3 separate regions of the Homo sapiens genome follow, and all the other regions are linked to region 1. Evidence: promoter capture Hi-C in 16 types of primary human blood cells and fetal thymus (Javierre and others, 2016). All regions are on one chromosome and are shown on one strand. The core of a region is centred on a gene start or on the middle of the fragment in contact, and the rest is flanking DNA. Distances in the headings are between cores, read along the strand shown. Region 1 holds the start of ABCG4 (ATP binding cassette subfamily G member 4). Region 2 overlaps PHLDB1 (pleckstrin homology like domain family B member 1). Region 3 overlaps ARCN1 (archain 1 coat protein complex I subunit delta).

Region 1 (3,442 bases), core at 301-2,800:
AAAGAAAGAAAGAAAGAAAGAAAGTTGTGTGCCAAAGAATAAAGCTGGGTGGCATTAAGACATGGAGGTTATCTCAGGAGGATGAAGAGCCTGTCTAGAAAATAGAGGGAGACAGTCCATTTGGGAATAAGGTTCTGAGAGGCCCAATTAGCAGGGTAAAATCAGGGACTTTGGGATTCAAGCCCTGCTTTGCCACCAACTATTGCTTAACCTCCCTATGCCTCAGTTTTTCATCTCTAAAGGGGGGTTGTAAAACCTGTCGCATAGGGATATTGTGAAGATTAAATAACATAATGCCTGGTACAAAGTAGTTAATAAATGCAACTGTTGGGGGATGGGGAGGTCTATAGTAGCTGATGAGAAGTTGACTTGGAGAATGGAGGGTCCATCTGGAGAACAGGAGGTTGGTCCTGAGGAATGGTGGTGATGTGGGGCATGGAGTTGGGGGAAGATAGGAAAGACTGGATCCAAACCCCACACAAACCTCAGAGTAACAGGGCGGGGCCTAGAGAAATCCTCCAGGGATCGCCAGCTTTTAGGGCTGTGGAGAGGTGGTTGGGAGGGGGGCCAGCAGGGGAGAGGTTTGACTGCTAGTAACCCTCAACTGCTGCAGTAAGGAGAAGCCTCAGCGGTGGCAGTCACACCAGCAGCCTCAGAGCCTTCCCTCCCCATCGTCTCTGCTGTGTGACAGGTGGGAACTTAAAAGCTCAGATCACGTGTCTTGGCTAGCTAACCTACTTACCCCTTGAAGACATAGTGGCTGGGACAGGCAAGGGCCAAGAGGAATTGGCTGAGAAAGGGGCAGAGCAGGGGAAAGCCCCAAGTGTGTTCTGGGGACCTACATTTGAAGGCTTTGGGGGCAAGGGAGAGAATGTGCAGGTGCATGAGATGCCCAGGGCATGTCTGCGAGCCCTGTGCATGCCCTGGCACACAGGTCCCTCCAGGATATGGCATGTGCCTGTCTTGAAGGCCTGTATCTGGCTAGGTGACTACAGTCGGAGCAGGCTGAGCACTGGGTTCCAGTTTAACTCTGGAGCTACTGCAGGCTCTCCCAAAGCTGCTGCCATTTTCCCTTCTTTATTAGTGTCCTAACTCAGAGAAAGTGTGAATGGGGAGACAGGAGGATGTTCCAATGTCCCAAGGCTCCTGCGTTTTTGAAAGCCTTTGCACCTCGTTTGGGGATTCCTGGAGGGAGGCCTGCGCTCATTCATGGGCTGGAACTGAGGGAAATTGTTGGGGGACTGGTATCGTGTGTGAAGACAGACTGACACCTTTACAATCCCTCCACTTTCCCCCACCCCCAACACCCTTGCCTAATCTGTCTTCCAGGGACTTGTCCCCACGGAGTGACTCCAGCTCTCCTTTCCTCACTGCCTCCAAGTCGGCCCTTTGCCATCAACCCCCAGTCCTGAGTTCACCCCTGCACCTCCTCCGGCCCCCGCGCCGCAAGCGCTGCTCTCTCCTTTGCCGTCCTCGCCCCCCGCGGGCTGCCGGGCGGCGCGGGCCCTTTAAGAACGGCGGGACCGGCGAGCAGTAGCTGGTAGGAGAGCGCAGTCGCCCCGCGGGCTCGGAGGACACAGCGTCCGGGACCAGGCTCTGGGAAGCGGGTGTGCACAGCCCAGCAGAGTCAGGGCGCGACCCCAACCGCCTCTCACCATCCTTGCCGTCTCCTCCGAGCCGAGGGCCGGCCCTCCTGCCTCGCCTGCCCCGCCCCGGCCCCGCCCCGGCCCGGGCCGCCGGGACCGGGAGCCGGGACGCGGGTGCCGCAGCCCGAGGCAGGTAAGGGGAGCCCCGGCTCTCCGTCCCCGGTCCGTGGCAGCGCTGAGCATCCCGGCCCCGCACCGGCCCGGGGGCGCGTCAAGGTGACTAGGCATGCGGGAGATGGGGCGGGGGCTTGAGCTGCCGTGGGGCGCTTAGTTTTGAGTCCGGGTGGTGCGCCTGGCTTTGGGGACAGCCCGGGGCACGCGGGCCCGGGGGTGCCGGCGGGAGGGGCCGGCCTGGGCGTCGCGCCAAGGGATGGGGAGTGGGACGCAGCCGGAGGCCTGAAGCCTCCTCCTCTCCGCCTTCCCCTGGTCCGCCCTGCACTCACCCTGCTACCCCGACCTCCTAGAGCGGGCAGCCTCTGCCGGCTGCCTCTTCTCCCCCGCCCCCTATTCCTTCAGTCCCCAGGGGCTGCTGGCCTGCGGGGTAAGGAGATTAGAGAAGCCGCCGGGAGGAAGGAGCGATTGAGGGCTTCAAGGGGACGGGCTGGGGTCAGGCTGGAGCTGGGCTGCCCGGGACTGAGCGTCTCCGTGCGGAGAGTGGGGGGCGGGGGCAGAGTGCGGGGCTAACAGTCGCGGATCTGCCCCGAGAAGGAGGTGGGCAGTGGGGGCGGGGGAAGCATTAGAACGCCAGGGAGCTTTGAGCCGGGCTCGGTGGTCTGCCCCAAACTGAGCAGGCCCTCCCCTTGCAGGTCGGCGGCGTGATGGCGGAGAAGGCGCTGGAGGCCGTGGGCTGTGGACTAGGGCCGGGGGCTGTGGCCATGGCCGTGACGCTGGAGGACGGGGCGGAACCCCCTGTGCTGACCACGCACCTGAAGAAGGTGGAGAACCACATCACTGAAGCCCAGCGCTTCTCCCACCTACCCAAGCGCTCAGCCGTGGACATCGAGTTCGTGGAGCTGTCCTATTCCGTGCGGGAGGGGCCCTGCTGGCGCAAAAGGGGTAGGGAACAGCCTGGTAGGGGGAGTCCGTGGGCCCTCTCTGAGTTGCCTCTCCAGAAGCATGAGGCCTGGGTGTCCCATGTTCGGAAAGTCCTGCACCAGTGGGCTCTGTGGAAACACTAAAATCTGGGCCCCAGCCCGTTGCTCACTGTGCACTCTTGGGGTGTCAGGATCTACGCTCCCCCACACCTGTGAGCACCATGGGATACTAGGTGCAATTGGTTATTGAAGCTGTATCTTCTAAAGAGATCCCGTGACCTCTGGTCCTTGAGTGGTCCTTGATGAGTTTTCCTTCTTTTGTTTATGGAGGATTCCTACCTGTGAGGGCTGGTATGAAAAAGTAGGGGGCTGTGTCTGCAGGGTTGAGCAATACCCTTGGACCTAATTATAAAGACGTTCTCATTCCTGTCATCTTATTCCATTCTTACCACAGTGCTCAGAAGCAGGGAGGGTGGCGGTTTGGCAGGATAGATGTCATCTCCATGTTACTAATAAGGAAACTGAGGCCCAGGGAAGTTGAGTAACTTGACCAATGTCACACAGCTAGTAAGTGGTAGAGCTGAGACCAGAAGCCCGGTTTCCCAGCTCTCCATGCATTGTTCCTTTCTCTCTCTTCCCTGTACAGCAGTCCCATCACTTCCCTCTTCCCGCCCATGAGGACAGGTTCCCCTGAACCCTGACTAGCCCCTGCAGCCCCTACCCTGAGCAGCTTTAGCTGCTAGTAGGGAAGCTGAGGCTGTT
Region 2 (3,757 bases), core at 998-3,497, 510 kb before region 1:
GGCAGTGAGCACAGCCCAAGGGACTGACATTGGGGAGTGATTCAAGTTCGGGTCCCACCATCTGGAGAACATCTCCCTCCAAGCATGCCACAAGTGCTTACGTTGTGATCTTTGGGAGATGGCCCTCGGGCCTCTGCTTCCCTTGAGCCTTCAGGATCTGCAGCCTCCCATCCCAGGTGATCCTAGCTCCTGCCCCTGCCCCTTTCAGATTTCGTGCCAGCCTGCAGGGGCCACTCCCAGATGCCCAACACCGTGCCAAAAGCTCTGAAGTGGAGAGGGGTCATCTATTTCTGGATCTGACAGTATTTTTCCAATAATTTAATTTTCCTTCTGGATTTTTTGAGTTTCTTCCTCCTGCCCTCAATTTTGAGAATCTTAAAAATTCTTTGACCCTTTTTTTTTTTTTTTGGAGCTTTGGCTCTGGCCCCCAAAACCACACTCCCAAATTCTGTGCCAAATTAACTCCACGCTTGCCAACTAGGCCTACACTAACGTCCCTTCTAATCACTGACTTGGGCTTTCCGCATGCCCCTAACTGCCAGTGCCACCCAGGTAGGGCTGAGCCATGCCCGCTTTTGCACTAACTCAGTGGGTGCCTCTGTGCCCCTGGCCTCTCTCCTCTAATGCTGCCTCCTTCTTTTCTTGGTGTGGGACCCCAGAGTTTTTATATGAAAGGAATTGGCAGGAGGATTGGTAGCTCAACTTTACTCAAGGGGGCATTGGCAGGAGGGGTATGAGGGTGGGGGAAATGCTTGGCTGTGGAGCTGCTCAGACTGAAGAGTTCTTTCCATTGGAAATGCCTAGGCTGCTGTCTTAGGCTACTGTCTGAGGACAGCATGAGATAACCCAAGGAAGCTTCCTGGCAGCTTCCTGCACAGCAGAGTAGGCTGTCTTCCACCTATTCCCCTGCCTGCCCTCTGGAGCCAAGGAGTAAGGAGGCCCAGTTGTGGGCGTGGTCTTGGAGGGCTTGAACAGGACCTCTCTGCCAACATAGTGGCTACCCTTCCTAGCTTTCCCTTGGGGCTTCCCAAATTCAGATACCCATCAGAGGTTGGTAATGGGTAGCCCCTACTCTTCTCCTCACTCCTGAGCCACCTATAACACAGGGTATTTTAAAGGCTGAGTCCAAGGATGAGGAAGCACCTAGACCCCAGGAACTGGCCTGATTAGGTCCTCCTCTCTGGGGATGGGTAGATGAGTTGGGTAGAGGGATGGGAGTGACTGGGTTCAGCATAGGGCCTCACTCCCAGGGATAAAGCTCAGCATTTCAGAAGGAACCTGCCTAACCTCATTTCCCACTGACCTGGAGTTTTTTGGAGGCCTAGACTTCGCTTTCTCTGTGGGGAAGAGAGGTTATTCGAGGCTGTGGTAGTGATGGTGGTGGTGGTGATGGTGGTAGTGATGGCAATGGTGTGGAGGGTTCACTTGGCTTCCCTCCCCTGCCCTCAGCCCATGGCTCCACTCTGGCTTTGGAATCAGTAACCACAGTTTCTCCTCTGCCTGTCCTTTGAGGGGTGACTCACCAAACCCTCCCCTCGTCCCCCTTCCCACCCTCAGAGGTGTCATCTCACCCCAGAAAGAACCGTCCACCCCCTCTGTACCCACTCCTGGGACTCATTACCATGGAAACAGCCCGAACTAATTGCAACCCTCATCCCTGAAGTTCAGCCTGCAGGGCCAACACCCCACCCCGACCCTGGGCAGGAGGGGAGGGAGGCCAAGGGTGTTGGGTTGGGGTCCCCTCTGCCACACTGCTTTAACATCCTCAGCTCCTGATTGACGCCCAACCCTGGATTTAACCCTCACCATCACTACCCTTTTTCCCTGGGTTAAATTTTGGTCTCTGGGCTGTAGTAGAAGGGGAGGGATGAGAGCTGGAGGCTCTGTGATGCAGAACCAGCCTTGACTGGTTTGGAGAGAAAACAGAGGGCCTTTTCTCGAGACCTACCCAACAATTTCAGTTCAAGGGACTTCAGGAGACCAAAATCTGTGCCCTGCCCCCACACCTCTGCCTGTGTTACCTCATCCCCTGCACCTCTGACTGCCGTGTTACCTTCAGCTCCTGGCCTTGGGCCCTCTCCCTCTTCACCTCTTTCCCTCCTCACTTTCCCTTTCTGCCCTTTTCTTTCTCCTCGCCTGGTTATTCTCCTCTTTGATTCTAGCCTTTTTTTCTCCTCTCTCAACCCCCATTGCCGACCCCCATTCTGTCCCGCCCTGGCCGCCCTCCCGCGCTCCCCTCCCGCCGCTGCCGGGCCGGAGTTGAGGAGTGTGTGTTCTGTTTCTCCCCTGTGCCCCGCCCTCTCCCTCGCCCTCCCGCCGACCAGGAGAGGGCGGAGCTGGCCGCGGGACGGAGGCACCTGGAGGCCCGCCAGGCGCTCTACGCCGAGCTCCAGACGCAGCTCGATAACTGCCCCGAGTCAGTGCGGGAACAGTTACAGGAGCAGCTGAGAAGGGTCAGTTCCACCGCCCCCCCTCCCCCGGCCCCGCGGGCCACGCCCCAGAAGGAAGAGAGGAGAGCGGTGGGACGGGACCACCTGGCCTCTGCAGTACCTGCCGGACACCAGGGTCGGTGCTGCGGTTTGGAGGGAACCGGGAAGGTTGGGGAATCAGCGCTCCAGGCCATGATGCCCGCAAAAGGGCAAGGCCAAGTACAGCGGGAGCTGGGGGGAGGCAGGTTTCTTACCCAATTTCCCCGGGTCCAGCCCCATACAACGCATGCCCCTGTGGCCTGGTCTTCCAGGCCCAGAGTGGCATTGCAAGCACCACCCAACCCCCTTTGTCACTGTCGTTGAAGGAGGCAGAGGCCCTGGAGACTGAGACAAAGCTCTTTGAGGACTTGGAGTTCCAGCAGTTGGAGCGGGAGAGCCGCGTGGAGGAGGAGCGCGAGCTGGCCGGCCAGGGGCTGCTCCGGAGCAAGGCTGAGCTGCTCCGCAGCATCGCCAAGAGGAAGGTGTGCCCCACCTCGTTCCCTGCTGCGTGCTGTTGGAGGCCAGTGACCTGGGTTTGAATCCCAATGACCTCACAAAAGTTAACTTCGTCTTTTGTGCCTGGATTTCCTTGTCTGTAAAATGAGAATTACAACAGGTTGTTGTGAGAATTAAACAAGATGTAAAGACAGAATAGGATGTGATTGTAATGAGCACTCGGTGAAGAATAACTATTATTAAGCTCTGACTCCCCTCAGTCTTCCAGTGGAAAGTGGATTCTGCTCCCATTCAGAGCTTGGCACTGGCCCAGCAGGAAGGTGAAAGATGGAGGAGGAGGAGGCTTGCCCCTGTGCTTGCAGAGCTCTTGTCTGGTGGAAGTGCTGGGACACACAGAAAGATTTGAGATCTGGATATTAGAGCCAGCTAGGGGCCCTAGAAAGGGCATTCATTTCGGTTCCAGCCATGGCTCAGCCCTGCCTTGGCTGAGCTATAAAACAAGGGTTATTGGGTATTGTGGCCTGGCCAGCTGTGACACGCTAGCTAGATACTGTGATCACCTGCTCTTGATCTCAGCCAGACCACAGGATGGTGGCACAGGTGACTGTGTATGTTTGGGGAGTAAAGCTGGGAGGAGGTATGTGTTAGTAAGGGTTGGGAAGAGGTGAGGGAGGGATTGGAGAGGATGGCTCAAGCAGCTTCCACCCTTATGGCTGAAGCTTGTGGCCATGCACATGCACACATGCATGTACATTTTGCTTGGCTGGAGTTAGTGTGGGGGAAGTGAGGGTGGTGAGATTGGGGAGGGGTGTCTAAAATTGGTGACGTAGGGG
Region 3 (3,793 bases), core at 1,254-3,753, 570 kb before region 1:
TCTCCAAAAAAAAAGAAAGAAATTGTGAATTCTGATCCTCAGGATAATTACTAAATCCAGTGACCTTTTGTTAGTACTACATGCAAAACTAGCGTAGTTTGAAGATAAGATGTATCCCAGACAATTATTTTAGTTCAATATAAAGTCATTGAGGGAGCACCTTTAATATGAGAGACTATGGAAGGATTCAAAACTACACAACTCTTTTTTAAAAATATATAAGTATTCCTTACATAAAAATATATTACCATGATAGCATATTTTCACACCTAAAAAATTAGCAATAATTTTTAATATTATCAATTATTCAGTCACTGTTCAAATTTGATTTATACATTGTGATTGATTGACATGTCTAAGTCTCTTAATGTGTTTGTATTTTTAGTAGAGATGGGGTTTCACCATGTTGGTCAGGCTGGTCTCGAACTCCTGACCTCAAGTAATCCACTCGCTTTGGCCTCCCAAAGTGCTGAGTTTACAGGTGTGAGCCACTGTGCCCGTGAAAGTCAGTATTCTATTACTTGTCATGTCAGCTGGTCGTGGTAGTTCACGCCTATAATCCCAGCACTTTGGGAGGCCAAGGCAGGAGGATCGCTTGAACCCAGGAGTTCAAGACCAGCCTGGGAAACATAGCGAGATACTGTCTCTACTAAAAGCTTTTTAAAAATTAGCGAGGCTTGGTGGCACACACTTGTAGTCCCAGCCACTCAGGATTTCTTGAGCCCAGGAGTTTGAGGTTGTAGTGAGCTGTGGTCTTGCCATTGCACTCCGGCATGGGTGACAGAGTGAGACCCTGTCTTAAAAATAATACTACTACTAGTCATGTCACTAAATAAATATGTCATTCTATGGAACATTTCCTGAGATGCTGAGAAAACAGATGTGAAGAAATAATTAGTACTTACTTATGCATATGTTCCTGGCAGGTGCTGTTGGCAGCAGCGGTCTGCACAAAAGCAGGAAAGGCTATTGTTTCTCGACAGTTTGTGGAAATGACCCGAACTCGGATTGAGGGCTTATTAGCAGCTTTTCCAAAGCTCATGAACACTGGAAAACAACATACGTTTGTTGAAACAGAGAGTGTAAGATATGTCTACCAGCCTATGGAGAAACTGTATATGGTACTGATCACTACCAAAAACAGCAACATTTTAGAAGATTTGGAGACCCTAAGGCTCTTCTCAAGAGTGGTAAGAGTACTGCTATAATACTGGGTTCCACTTTTTGTTTTACATTTTATGTGAAACTAGTTTTTCCTCCAAAGCAGCTGATGCTAACCAGTTTGCAGGTTCCTACTCCGCACCCCAGCGACTTATTGCTGCAGCACCTTGTTTATTCAGCAGACATTTATTGGGTGTCCTCTTAGACTATAGATGTCTCAAAAGAATATGGGAACTACTGTTTCATTTCCCAGTTCTTAAGCAGTTGTTCTAATCTGCCGTTCTAGTTCTGACACTTGTTTGGCTATGCTTTTTAGGTAATGTTTTTTAGGTAAGACTTACTGATCCAGAGACAGACACACACACACACACCCCTCTTCTAAGACTTTATGCCAAAGTCTTGCTTAAAATGAAGACTTAGGTAAGACTTACTGATCCAGAGACAGACAGACAGACAGACACACACACACACACACACACACACACACCTTTTAAGACTTTATGCCAAAGTCTTGCTTAAAATGAAGGCTAAGGCCAGGTGCGGTAGCATGTGCCTGTAGTCCAAGCTACTCAGGAGGCTGAGGCAGAAGGATTGCTTGAGGCCAGGAGTTCAAGTGCACAGGCATTATACTTTAGTGTGGGCAACACAGCAAGACCCTGATTCTTTTTTTTTTAAAGACGGAGTCTCGCTCTTGCCCTGGCTGGAGTGCAGTGGTGCAATGGTGCAATCTCGGCTCACTGCAACCTCCACCTCCCAGGTTCAAGCAATTTTCTGGCCTCAGCCTCCCGAGTAGTTGAGATTACAGATGTGCATCGCCATGCCTGGCTAATTTTTGTACGGGGTTTCACCATGTTGGCCAGGCTGGTCTCGAACTCCTGACCTCAGGTGATCTGCCTATCTTGGCGTCCCGAAGTGCTGGGATTACAGGCATGAGCCGCTGCACCCGGCTGTAAGAATCAGGGTCTTGGGCGTGGTGGCTCACGCTTGTAATCCCAGCACTTTGGGAGGCTGAGGCGGGTGGATCACCTGAGGTCAGAAGTTTGAGACCAGCCTGACCAACGTGGTGAAACCTCGTCTCTACTCAAAATACAAAAAAATTAGCTGGGCATGGTGGCGGGCACCCATAATCCTACTACTCAGGAGGCTGAGGCATGAGAATTGCGTGAACCCAGGAGGTGGGGGTTGCAGTGAGCCGAGATCGTGCCACTGCACTCCAGACCGGGTGACAGAGTTAGACTTTGTCTTAAAAAAAAAAAAAAAAAAAAAATCAGGGAGTTAGGCTGGGCGCAGTGGCTCACGCCTGTAATCCCAGCAGTTTGGGAGACTGAGGCAAGCGGATCACCTGAGGTCAGGAGTTCAACACCAGCCTGGCCAACATGGTGAAACCCCGTCTCTACTAAAAATACAAAAATTAGCTGGGCGTGGTGGTACACACCTGTAGTCCCAGCTACTCCGGAAGCTGAGGCAGGAGAATCACTTAAACCCAGGAGATGGAGGTTGCAGTGAGCCGAGATGGCACCACTGCACTCCAGCGTGGGCAGCAGAGCGAGACTCTGTCCCAAAAAATAAAATAAAGACTAGAAGTAGCTAATAAAGGGATTTAGGTTATTGAAATTTATGTACTCTAAAGGATAAGACTTGGAAATATAGCTGCTGATAAATTCTAAATCTTTCTTTTTTATTGGTGTCCACGCTTAGATCCCTGAATATTGCCGAGCCTTAGAAGAGAATGAAATATCTGAGCACTGTTTTGATTTGATTTTTGCTTTTGATGAAATTGTCGCACTGGGATACCGGGAGAATGTTAACTTGGCACAGATCAGAACCTTCACAGAAATGGATTCTCATGAGGAGAAGGTGTTCAGAGCCGTCAGAGAGGTAAATAGGATCTTCTCTGGGACTACCTGTTTGTATGTCTTTCTCTTAGGCTTCACTAATCTCATTTTCCTATTTTTACTTACTAATGTAGACTGTATTCAAAACTATGTCCAGGCTAGGCACAGTGGCTCATGTCTGTAATCTCAGCACTTTGGGAGGCGGAAGTGGGAGTATCACTTGAGTCCAGGAGTTCAAGACCAGACTGGACAGCGTAGTGAGACCCTGTCTCTATAAAAAGTAAAAAAAAAATTAGCCAGGCATGGTAGCACGTGCATGTGGGTCCCAGCTACTTGGGAGGCTGAGATGGGAGGATCACTTGAGCCCAGGAAGTTGAGGCTGCAGTGAGCTGTGATTGTGCCACTTGCACTCCAGCCTGGGTCACAGAGTGAGACCCTGTCTCAACAAAAACCCAAAAAAAAAAGCTACATTAATGTATGTCTTTTTCTGTAGACTCAAGAACGTGAAGCTAAGGCTGAGATGCGTCGTAAAGCAAAGGAATTACAACAGGCCCGAAGAGATGCAGAGAGACAGGGCAAAAAAGCACCAGGATTTGGCGGATTTGGCAGCTCTGCAGTATCTGGAGGCAGCACAGCTGCCATGATCACAGAGACCATCATTGAAACTGATAAACCAAAAGTGGCACCTGCACCAGCCAGGTATAATCCAGTGTACTTTAGAATACCAGGTGAAGGGTGTATATGTGTCTATCTTTGAAGTCATAATCTGATTTCTTGGAAAGCTGTAAATAAAGAAG

What was found. The method cuts DNA at HindIII sites, captures the fragments that hold promoters and counts their contacts. A CHiCAGO score of 5 or more calls a contact.
Region 2: a fragment that was not itself captured here is called in contact with the fragment with the promoter of ABCG4 in region 1 in 1 of 17 cell types (naive CD8 T cells); the score reaches 5.4 in naive CD8 T cells.
Region 3: a fragment that was not itself captured here is called in contact with the fragment with the promoter of ABCG4 in region 1 in 1 of 17 cell types (non-activated CD4 T cells); the score reaches 5.6 in non-activated CD4 T cells.

The regions. Positions count from the first base shown.
Region 1 is chr11:119,147,502-119,150,943 of GRCh38, forward strand. It overlaps ABCG4 (ATP binding cassette subfamily G member 4), which reads left to right and starts at 1,551. Exons shown (of 15, transcript NM_022169.5): 1 at 1,551-1,862; 2 at 2,453-2,702. The coding sequence starts at 2,465. RefSeq lists an enhancer at 933-992 and a silencer at 1,650-1,729. The HindIII fragment of the contact is 14,272 bases long and covers 1-3,442 here.
Region 2 is chr11:118,632,599-118,636,355 of GRCh38, forward strand. It overlaps PHLDB1 (pleckstrin homology like domain family B member 1), which reads left to right. Exons shown (of 23, transcript NM_001144758.3): 10 at 2,795-2,950. Among named protein-coding and RNA genes, the nearest start is that of MIR6716, 9.5 kb to the right of the region's middle. RefSeq lists an enhancer at 2,272-2,942. The HindIII fragment of the contact is 2,788 bases long and covers 854-3,641 here.
Region 3 is chr11:118,580,320-118,584,112 of GRCh38, forward strand. ARCN1 (archain 1 coat protein complex I subunit delta) reads left to right here. Exons shown (of 10, transcript NM_001655.5): 2 at 927-1,190; 3 at 2,860-3,039; 4 at 3,490-3,695. Among named protein-coding and RNA genes, the nearest start is that of ARCN1, 9.8 kb to the left of the region's middle. The HindIII fragment of the contact is 3,699 bases long and covers 655-3,793 here.